Linked DNA regions of Homo sapiens: region 2 is linked to region 1. Evidence: promoter capture Hi-C in 16 types of primary human blood cells and fetal thymus (Javierre and others, 2016). All regions are on one chromosome and are shown on one strand. The core of a region is centred on a gene start or on the middle of the fragment in contact, and the rest is flanking DNA. Distances in the headings are between cores, read along the strand shown. Region 1 holds the start of CCL8 (C-C motif chemokine ligand 8). Region 2 has its middle 35 kb from the start of CCL2.

The links. Contacts are between HindIII fragments. The CHiCAGO score rates a contact against its expected background, and 5 or more counts as called.
Region 2: a contact is called between a fragment that was not itself captured here and the fragment with the promoter of CCL8 in region 1, in 1 of 17 cell types (monocytes). The highest score is 5.9, in monocytes.

What each region holds. Positions count from the first base shown.
Region 1 is chr17:34,316,665-34,321,407 of GRCh38, reverse strand. CCL8 (C-C motif chemokine ligand 8) reads right to left here and starts at 1,973. Exons shown (of 3, transcript NM_005623.3): 1 at 1,831-1,973; 2 at 1,022-1,139; 3 at 6-606. The coding sequence starts at 1,906. The coding sequence ends at 501. The HindIII fragment of the contact is 3,664 bases long and covers 1,554-4,743 here.
Region 2 is chr17:34,217,691-34,222,433 of GRCh38, reverse strand. No RefSeq gene overlaps it. Among named protein-coding and RNA genes, the nearest start is that of CCL2, 35 kb to the left of the region's middle. The HindIII fragment of the contact is 511 bases long and covers 2,582-3,092 here.

The sequences.
Region 1 (4,743 bases), core at 724-3,223:
CTAAGTAGTTTTAAATTATATATATTTTTTTCTTTTTGAAATTTTTTTTCAAAATTCCATAGTTATATACAGTAACATCAATTTCAACAACAGCAGTACAAAGCACACATTTGACTTACAGGAGCACTGATTGCCAAAGAATACCAAAGTGTTTCACCTTGATGATCCATGGGAGGACCCCACAACACTACAGACAGGTAGGAGGGAGAACAATGACATTTTGCCGTGAACTTAGTTGAGCTCACAGGAAAACAAAAACAAAAAACACATCACCAGGATTTTGCATTTTACATTCACTAGGATGTATGACAGATAGAGTTAAAACATCAACAACTTAAATATAATTAAATACTTTTTAAGAAATATTATGCTTTAAATTATTTAAAAATAATCTCTTTGTGGATGTTATAATAAAATAATGTCACACTGCACCTGGGGGAGGTTGGGGAAAATAAATAAGCTTTTCTTCAAGCTCTGACTCTCAGTCCATGTATGAAGGCTCATGGCTTCAGATTTTGAAATATTTGGTCCAGATGCTTCATGGAATCCCTGACCCATCTCTCCTTGGGGTCAGCACAGACCTCCTTGCCCCGTTTGGTCTTGAAGCTGTGGGGGAGAGAGGGCACAATTAGATGGAAGACTTTGAAGATCCTGCACAGGACTGTGGGCCATTGGTCCCTAGAACTGATCAGCCCTTGGTCCTTAGGTGAAGGACCCGGACCCGGGAGAGGAGGGAGGGGAAGAGTGGGAGGAAGAAGCTCCAGAAGGAAGCTCTGCTCTTGCTGTCCAGGTGAAACCCTCCAGGGTCCTGGCTACAGATATTGGGTTAGTTTCACCAAGCCCCTAGAAGGGAATCCTAGAGCAGTTATGGACTCCTTCTCATGGACTGAGTTTCTCTATGGGGTAGAGGGGCCCTTTGGATAGAAGTTATATGCATCCGACTCATATGGACATGAATCTTGACTTCTCTATGTTGTCCATCAGAACTTTTGAATGGGGGTGCCAGGCACTGTCCACTCACATCACAGCTTCCTTGGGACATTGGATGTTGGTGATTCTTGTGTAGCTCTCCAGCCTCTGGATAGGAATTTTCCTATTGATCACGTTAAAGCAGCAGGTGATTGGAATGGAAACTGAATCTGAAAGAAATTTTGCAAAGAATGAGACATTTAGGACCCACCGTAAGTGTGCATTTGTAAGGAAAAGAAGAGAAGGAAGGAGAAGACCAAGAAGTCACCATCCCAAGTTCAGTGTCTTAGTCCAGATCCCAGAGATAAAATGTTGCCTGTGAGTCTCTTTCCTCTATTGAACTCTGCGGCCCGTCATTGTTGACTGGGTTTGGAAACATTTTGAGTAACAAGCTAGTCCTTGTCTACTAACCCAAAACTTCTGACACTGGGAACATAAGTTCCAATACCTTGCTTCCCAGTCTTTCATCCTCATGGGCTTTAGAGTTAGCCTATGCCATACGCTGAGATTCCTCTGGGTCCTCATCCTCTTTACACAGCCACTGTTCTGGAAGGTACACTGAACCATAACCAAAATTTGAAGCTTCAGGCAATAGTTTCTCCCTCTCCACTACGGCCTGAAATGTCCTTTACACCCACAGTGAGAAACAGTTCTTCGTTCTGGATTATTTCCCCAAACAATGGGAGGGTTGTTGCTGTAGCGGCTCCACTGTCTCCTCCCAAAACTGGGGTCAGGAAAGATCAAGGGAACCAGCCTCAGTGACCTGAGCCTTTAGTTCTGGTTTTGTTCCTAATGAGCTGTGACATAATGGCTCTTCTTAATTCCTCTTTTGGTCTCCCCTTAAAAAGGGAGAGGTCTTACCTGGCTGAGCAAGTCCCTGAGGGCTGAAAGTGGCTGCCATGAGCAGCAGGCACAGAAGCGCTGCAGAAACCTTCATCTTGGAGGGCAAGGGTGTGAGCTTCAGCATGAGAGGTGAAGGTTTCTGGGTTGTTCTCAACCTCTCTGCTCCTCGGTGGCTCTGCCTGCCTTTTATAGGGAGCAGAGAGCCTGGGCATGGTCACAATCAAGGAAGAATGAAGTAAGACCTTCCTTGAATATGCTGAGTAAGCACCAGATCCTGGGATAATTTCCAGATAACAAAACAAGGAAGTTGTGAGTTTCTATCTTTTGCTTAGGCTCTGTGGAGCAGAGGCTGAAGGGTATGGGATTGTGCTCAGCAAAGTGACCTCACTGAACTATTAAGGGCTCTGATTTCCTTGAAATGGAAAATTGTCTATAAGAAAGGAAGAATGGAAGCTGACGTCATAGTGGAAGAGAGCCAAGGGCCTACCCCTCTGTGGGTAACAGGAGGCCAGGGATGGGCCCTAAGGCTTTGCTGGTGCTCTCCATCACACTAGAGTCACTTGCAGTTCTAAGCCAGGCAAGCTCCTTTAGAACCCCAGCCACAGAACGTTGGCAGAATGACAGAATCCTGGAACTAAGTCTTAATGCCCCAGAATCTTACTGTTGCAGAGGGTAAGAACTAGACAGCACATGCTGGTCTTGTAGCATGGTGGTTTCCAAACATTTTATTTAGATGCTCAAGTTTCTTTCCAAATGAAATTATATGGAGAAGTCCAATATGTCATGGAGATTCAGGTGGAATGGGTCCGTCTGCAGAAGGCCTTCCAACTCTCTTGGTTCACACACAGTGGGGCTGTGGGCGGGGCGTGGCAAGAAGGAACCAGGTTTGCAAAAGACTGACCTCATCTACTCCCCCTGCAGGCCTGATCTATCCATCATTACAATATCATATAGAAGTTTTCCTGCTCTAAGAATTCACTGTATTCTTCTATTCATCCTTTTTCCTCTCCACAAATCTCTGGCTACCACTGATCTTTTTACTATCTCTGTGAGCTTGTCTTTTCCCAAGTATCATATGCATAGTTGGAATCATATAGTAGGCAGCCTTTTCAGACTGGCTTCTTTCACTAAGCAATATGCATTTAAGGTTTCTCCGTGCCTTGTTGTGGTTTGATAGCTAATTACTTCCTTTGTTCTTTATTCATTTATTATTTTTATTGTGGTAAAAATGCACATACCATCTTAACCATTTTTAAGTGCATAGTTTAGTGGCATTAAGAACATTCACACTGTTGTGCAACAGTCTCAATAACTCTTTTCATCTGTAAACAGAAATTCTATACCTATTGATCTCCAGTTTCCCCTCCCCCAAGCCCCTGGCAACCACCATTTCTACTTACTGTTTCTGATTTTGACTGCTCTAACTACCTCATGTGAGTGAAATCATATAGTATTTTTCTTTTGTGACTGGCTTATGTCATTTAGCGTAAGGATCTCAGGGTTCATCTATGTGGCAGCATATGATATGCTACATATCCTTAAGGCTGAGTAATATTCCCTTGTATGTATATAGTACATTTTATGTATCCATTCATCTGTTGAGGGCTCTCTATTCTGTTCCATTGATCCATTTGTCTATTCTTTCACCAATACCACACCGTCTTGATTACTGTTTCCTAATAGTAAATCTTGAAGTTGGGTAATGTTAGTCCTCTGACTATTCTTTTTCAGTACTGTGTTAGCTATTCTAGATCTTTAACCTTTCCATATAAACATTAAAATCAGTCTATCACATCCAAAAAGAACCTGCTGGGATTTGGACTGGGATTGTGTTGAAGGTACAGATCAAGTTGGGAAGAACTGACATGCTGACAACATTAACTCCACCTATCCATACATGTGGAATATCTCTTCATTTATTTAGATCGTCTTTAATCTTTCATCAGAAGTTTGTAGTTTCCCTCATATATATTGTACATCTTAGACTAATTTCTAAACACTTCATTTTATTGGTGTTAATGTAAATAGTATTGTGTATTAATTTCAAATTCTAGTTGCTCATTGCTGATATACAGGAAGTTATTGAATTTTATCTATTAGCCTTGTATCCTGTAGCTAAAATTGCTTATTAGTGGCATGACTTTTTTTTGTTGCTGATTCTCTGTAATTTTCTACACAGACAATCATGTCTTCTGCAAATAAATTCAGTTTTATTTATTCTTTCTAATCTGTATATATTTTTATTTTCTTGTCTTGTGCTGTTGTGTTGGCTAGGCCTTCCAGTATTATGTTGAATTGGAGTGGTGAGAAGAAACATCCTTGCCTTATACTCAATCTTAGGAGAAAAATATCTAGTTTCTCACCATTAAGTATGATATTTGCTGTAGGTCTTTTTTAATGCACTCTATAAAGCTGAGGAAGTATCCCTCTATTCCTAGTTTGCTGAGAGTTTTTTTTTTTAAATCATGAATGGCTGTTGAATTGTGTCAAAAAAAATTTTCCATCTATTGATATTATAATAAGATTTTCCTTCTTTAGAAAGTTGATATGATGGGTTATATCAACCAATTTTTGAACGCTGGATCAGCCTTGCATACCTGGAATAAATTCCACTTGGTTGTAGCTTATAATTCTTTTTATATGTTGTCGGATTTTATTTGCTGATATTTTGTTGAGAATTTTGTTCATGAGTTTGGTTTATAGATTTCTGTTGGTTTATAGTTTTCTTTTGTTGTAATGTCTTTATCTGGTTTTGATGTTAGGGTCATTCTGGACTCAGAATGAATTAGGAAGGGAGGAGAGGGGGCAATTACAAAATTTGTTCCTCAGGAATTCTCATTGTTTTATAGAAATAACATCGGTTAGTAATTGGCAATGTATTGTTGAACTATAGGGTGTATATCTAAAATTTCACCACCAAATCCAAGATTG
Region 2 (4,743 bases), core at 1,588-4,087, 100 kb after region 1:
ACCTTTCTTATCTTCTTCACCCAGCTGGGATTGGAAGGAGTGCTTGAGGCTCAAAAGTTTAGGTGACATGCCCAAGGAGATTTAAATAGTTGCCGATGGGCCAAGGAAGAACCCATCTAAGATATTCATCCATCATGGGCATTTTATACCTGGCCACTGGTCTGCACATATTCTGAAAATAGCAGTGGAGCCGAGCCTTGAATGCTGAACAGGGTTTTGGAGGCAGAGAACGTTCCAGGAAGTGGAGCATGAGGAAACTTGGAGGTGATGAGAGGACCGAGTGTCCCTTGGGGAAGGGACCATCTCTAGAATGAGGAGTGGAGGCCTGAAAGTGAAGGCTGCCTTTGGGAATGACAGACATTTCTCATTGTAGCCACAGCACAGTATCTGCAGCTGTAGAGTGGGCATCGAACAATGATGAAAAGACAAGATCTGGCCAGATGCTGATGGGCCTTGCGTGCCACTCCACAGAGTTGGTCCTTTATCCTTTAGGCATCAGGGAACCATCTATATGTGCAAGAGTGAAGAGGCCAGAGTTCTGTTTTAGTACCATCACTCATACAGGAAGATGGAATGTGAATTTGGCACTGGGTGGCAGGGGTGGCAAGCAGTGCAAAAAGATAAAAATGTTAGCTAGAAAGCTGTCACTGTCCCCATTCCCAGCCTTCTCACCCTGCTGGATAGTGATCTAACCACTGCTCCTCAAGCTTCAATGTGGGTTGCAATTCCTGGGGAACTTGTTAACATGCAGACTTTGGTTGAATGGGTCTGGGATGGGGATGAAATCCTGCATGTTTAACAAGCTCCAGGGTGATGCAGATGCTGCCTCATTGGGGACTGCACTGTGTGTAGCAAGATGTAGAGAACAATGACAATATGCATGGAGCACCTACTCCGTGCCACAACTTTGCTGAGCTCTTTGTACGTACGTTTCTATTCAATGATCTCAACAGCAAAGAGGCAGTTACGGTTGTTATCCCTATTTTACTGATAAAGGAACTAGATTTCAGGGAGGTAAGGTAGTTTATTCTAAGTTACATAGACATTTTAGCCTGGTCTCTGAATTTTTCATGCCATGTAGAACAAACAAAATGCAGTCAGAGAGCCCATGAGCTTATTAAACTTCAGATCCTTTCGCGGAAACCTTATTGCGGCATGCTAACCCCAAGAAGGATTCAATCATTACTCACATCCCAAAAGGAAGGAAGAGGCAGTTTTCTCTTTTTAATCTCATGACCGAGAGGGGTGACTTTAAGAAACAGCCCTGGATGACCACAGGCAAAAAGATAGGGGAGGGTAGAAGATCAGTGAAGCAAATGTCTTTAAATGCCAATGGTGACTGATGCAGTGTCTTGGTGTGAGGGGGATGGGAAGCAGTGATTATGGGCCATGGTGCGCCAAGCAGCCATTTGTTGCTCTATGTACATTTTCATGGTTTGGGACAAGGCATGGACAGGCAGCCTGGGAAGGTCTCATTTCCACTGTCAGAGATTATGTGATGCAGGGAGCACTCCAGAGGTGTTACATAATCTGCCATTGCAACATCCACACCTAGGGTTTCTTGCTTCCTCTGGCCAGATCTAGAAAGCAAGTCAAAAGTCACAGAAGGAGGCAATATTTAGGCTCTAGGCTGAAAAATCCCATGGGAGCAATGAGAGACAATGGCTGAGGAGAGCTCTGACCATCTCTCTCAGCTAGGAAAGGCTGGCTGTTATTATTTATGCTGGTCCAAAAGCAATATTTGGGAATTGACTTTTGGTGCCCAGTAGCTGAGCTGGCAAGGCAGGTGTTGTCTGTGAACCACTAGCCTCAGAATCACCTAGCATTTCTTAAAGGTGACTGAGCCTCTCTCCAGACCTACTGAATCAGAATGTGGGGGGTGAGGGTGGACTTTCATTTTTAACATATTTCTCAGGTGATTTGCATGCACTTTAAGAACTGCTTATAGACTCCATTAGCAGCATGAGAAACCTAGACAAGATAGGAAAATAATATGGGTTCTGGAGTCAAACAAACCTCCCAGACTTGTGCCATATCCTTGAAGCTTATTAGCTATGTGATCTTGTACAAATTGCTTGACTTCTTTGATTCCCATTTGTAAAATGGGTTTATGATACTCCACACTGAGGAGTGTTGTGAAGGTCAGAAGACTGTGTTTGCAAATGCCTGCTGCATATCAGGCACTCAACAAATACTTGTGGGTTTAAGTTTAAATTAAGCATTTTCCAGGCTTCACTCTCAATCTTGTTAAAATAGCCTCAGGTGCTCATCTACCCAGGACATTTGCGATTGGTGGGTAGAAGAGTGTGGGAAAGTGAGGAGAACTTGGGTGATGTAATACGATGTATTCTCATTATTTTTGCCAATTTATAGGCTTTGAGACAGATGTGAGAATCGAGGTCTCAGCAGCCTGGGACACTGTGCTGTCTCTAACAAGATGCATTTTAGCAGGGATAGGAAAGATACTGACTTTGTACTTCACAAATTTAGGTGCAAACATGTGACCCAGGATAGGAAAATGAAGGTGAGCATAATAGGAAAATGAAGGTGAGCTTGGGTTGCTTTACAAGAAGTATAAGCTTTGGAATGAGGGAGTGGATCTCACTCTTCTTGTTCTGCTGGCCAGGACAGCCTGAAAACCTTCACACATTATGAGCTGGGGAGAGAGTGGGCCTTATCTTCAAAGGAGAGGAAATTGGGTGGTAAAAGGAGTTAAGGTCATATAATTGAGGAGTGTTTTTAAAGAGTGGAGTGGTTTAGCCTACCCAAAAAGAGGCAATACAGTCACTGTATGCAGTAATCTGAAAGCATGAGTTGGGGAAGTGGTCTAAAGGAGCAGAATTAACAACATTGGGTGAAAACTGCTGCGACAAAGATTTTAGTTTCTTAGAGGGAAGAACTTCAACAATGGCTACCGCTATTGTGCTCCTCTACCAGGTAAGTTCAATAGCTTTATGTCATCAACACTCAAGCAACCTGGCCAAGCAGGAATTTTTTTTCTCCATTTTTCAGATGAAGAAACAGACTTAAAGAAGGGAAGTGACTTGGCAAAGCCACATGGATTAAAAGGGTTGAAGCCAAGAACAAAAGCTTGGAAGTCAGAGGAGTCTGCTCCCTCCACTGTATTGGGTTCTCTATCTACAAGCAGAGGAGCCTGAAGAAGGAATGAGTTGATTGGAAAGTAATATGTTCCCTGTTATTGAAGGTGACCACCTGTCAATGATTCCATGGAAAAGACTCAAGAAAAACAAATTGGTAGATCTTTGGAGTTAGGATCTTAGACTCTAAAATCATACGCCACTTCAGTAACTCATTGGCTGAGATTTGCTTGTTTGTTTATTTCCTTTTTGCTGTTTTATAGACCTACTGTAGTCTAAGTGTTTGTCATAGGGCCAGGTCCCTGTAATGCATGCCCAAGAAATGACTTGGCTCTTAAAAAGGACTACAGTCATCTGTGATGGCCCCAAATGTCCTCCCAGTCCTCAGATGCACAGGCAGTTACTTGTCTCTCACTCATCACACATGGGGCAAGACTTCCTTCCCCCATCCTTGAGATTTCTTACAATCAGCTTTGGCTTTAAGTCTCTGTCCCCAGACACTTGCCAACCCCCAAGAGCTCATCTTTCAGTCCCAAACTTGGTATGGAGGAATTCCATGCTGGGTGAAAGCTAGGATTGCCAAAAAGCACAGAAGAGGAACACCCATGGAAGTTGCAGAGGTCTTGCTTCTTGGAAAAGAAAGAGCATAACTTTGGATTTAAATCTGGCATCTCTCACTGCTTGATGGAGTACTTTAGTAAGTCTCTTAATATCTTTCAGCCTCAGTTCAAAGACCATTGAGTGATATTATCAACACCTCACAAAGCTATGCAAAATCTAGAAGGCCACACACATACATATGACATTGTACCTGCTTAGGGCTGTATAAATGCTCAGAAAGACTTGAAAAGACCCTAAGCTCTCACCTCTGACTAAATTTGAGGCACTGAGCAAACAGGAAGTGAAAGCTAAGGCAGAGTAGGTTTTTTATTTTTTGAGATGGAGTCTTGCTCTGTCACCCAGGCTGGAGTGCAGTGGCGTGATCTCGGCTCACTGCAAGCTCCGCCTCCCAGGTTCAAAGAGTCTCCTGCCTCAGCATCTGGAGTAGCTGGAATTATAGGCACCTGCCACCACGCCTGGCTAATTTTTTTTTTTTTTTGTATTTTTATTAAAGATGAGGTTTCACTATGTTGGCCAGTCTGGTCTCAAACTCCTAACCACAAGTGATCCACCCACCTTGGCCTACCAAAGTGCTGGGATTACAGGTGTGAGCCACCACGTCCAGCCCACTAGGGCAGAGTTGTAAACAGCCCTTCTGTTGTTGAAAGTGAGCCCCAACACACAGAGCTCCCTGGCAAAGACTGAAAGACTTACTGGCCCCAAGTGTCTGAGGAAATTTCTATCCAGTCACTAGCTAAACACTAAGCTGATAAGAGATTTCAGTGGCCACATGTGACAAAAAATGCAGACTTTACAGAATTATCTTGTAAAAGTCATTAAACCTGAACATAAAAGCAAATAAAATGCAACAACAAAATTTGCATGGAGAATCTGCTTTTCAGGATTGCCATATTATATTATTTAAAATGTCCAGCTTCCCTATCATCAGAGTGAACAGGCAACCTACAGAATGGGAGAAAATTTTTGCAATCTATCCATCTGACAAAGGGCTAATATCCAGAATCTACAGAGAACTTAAACAAAT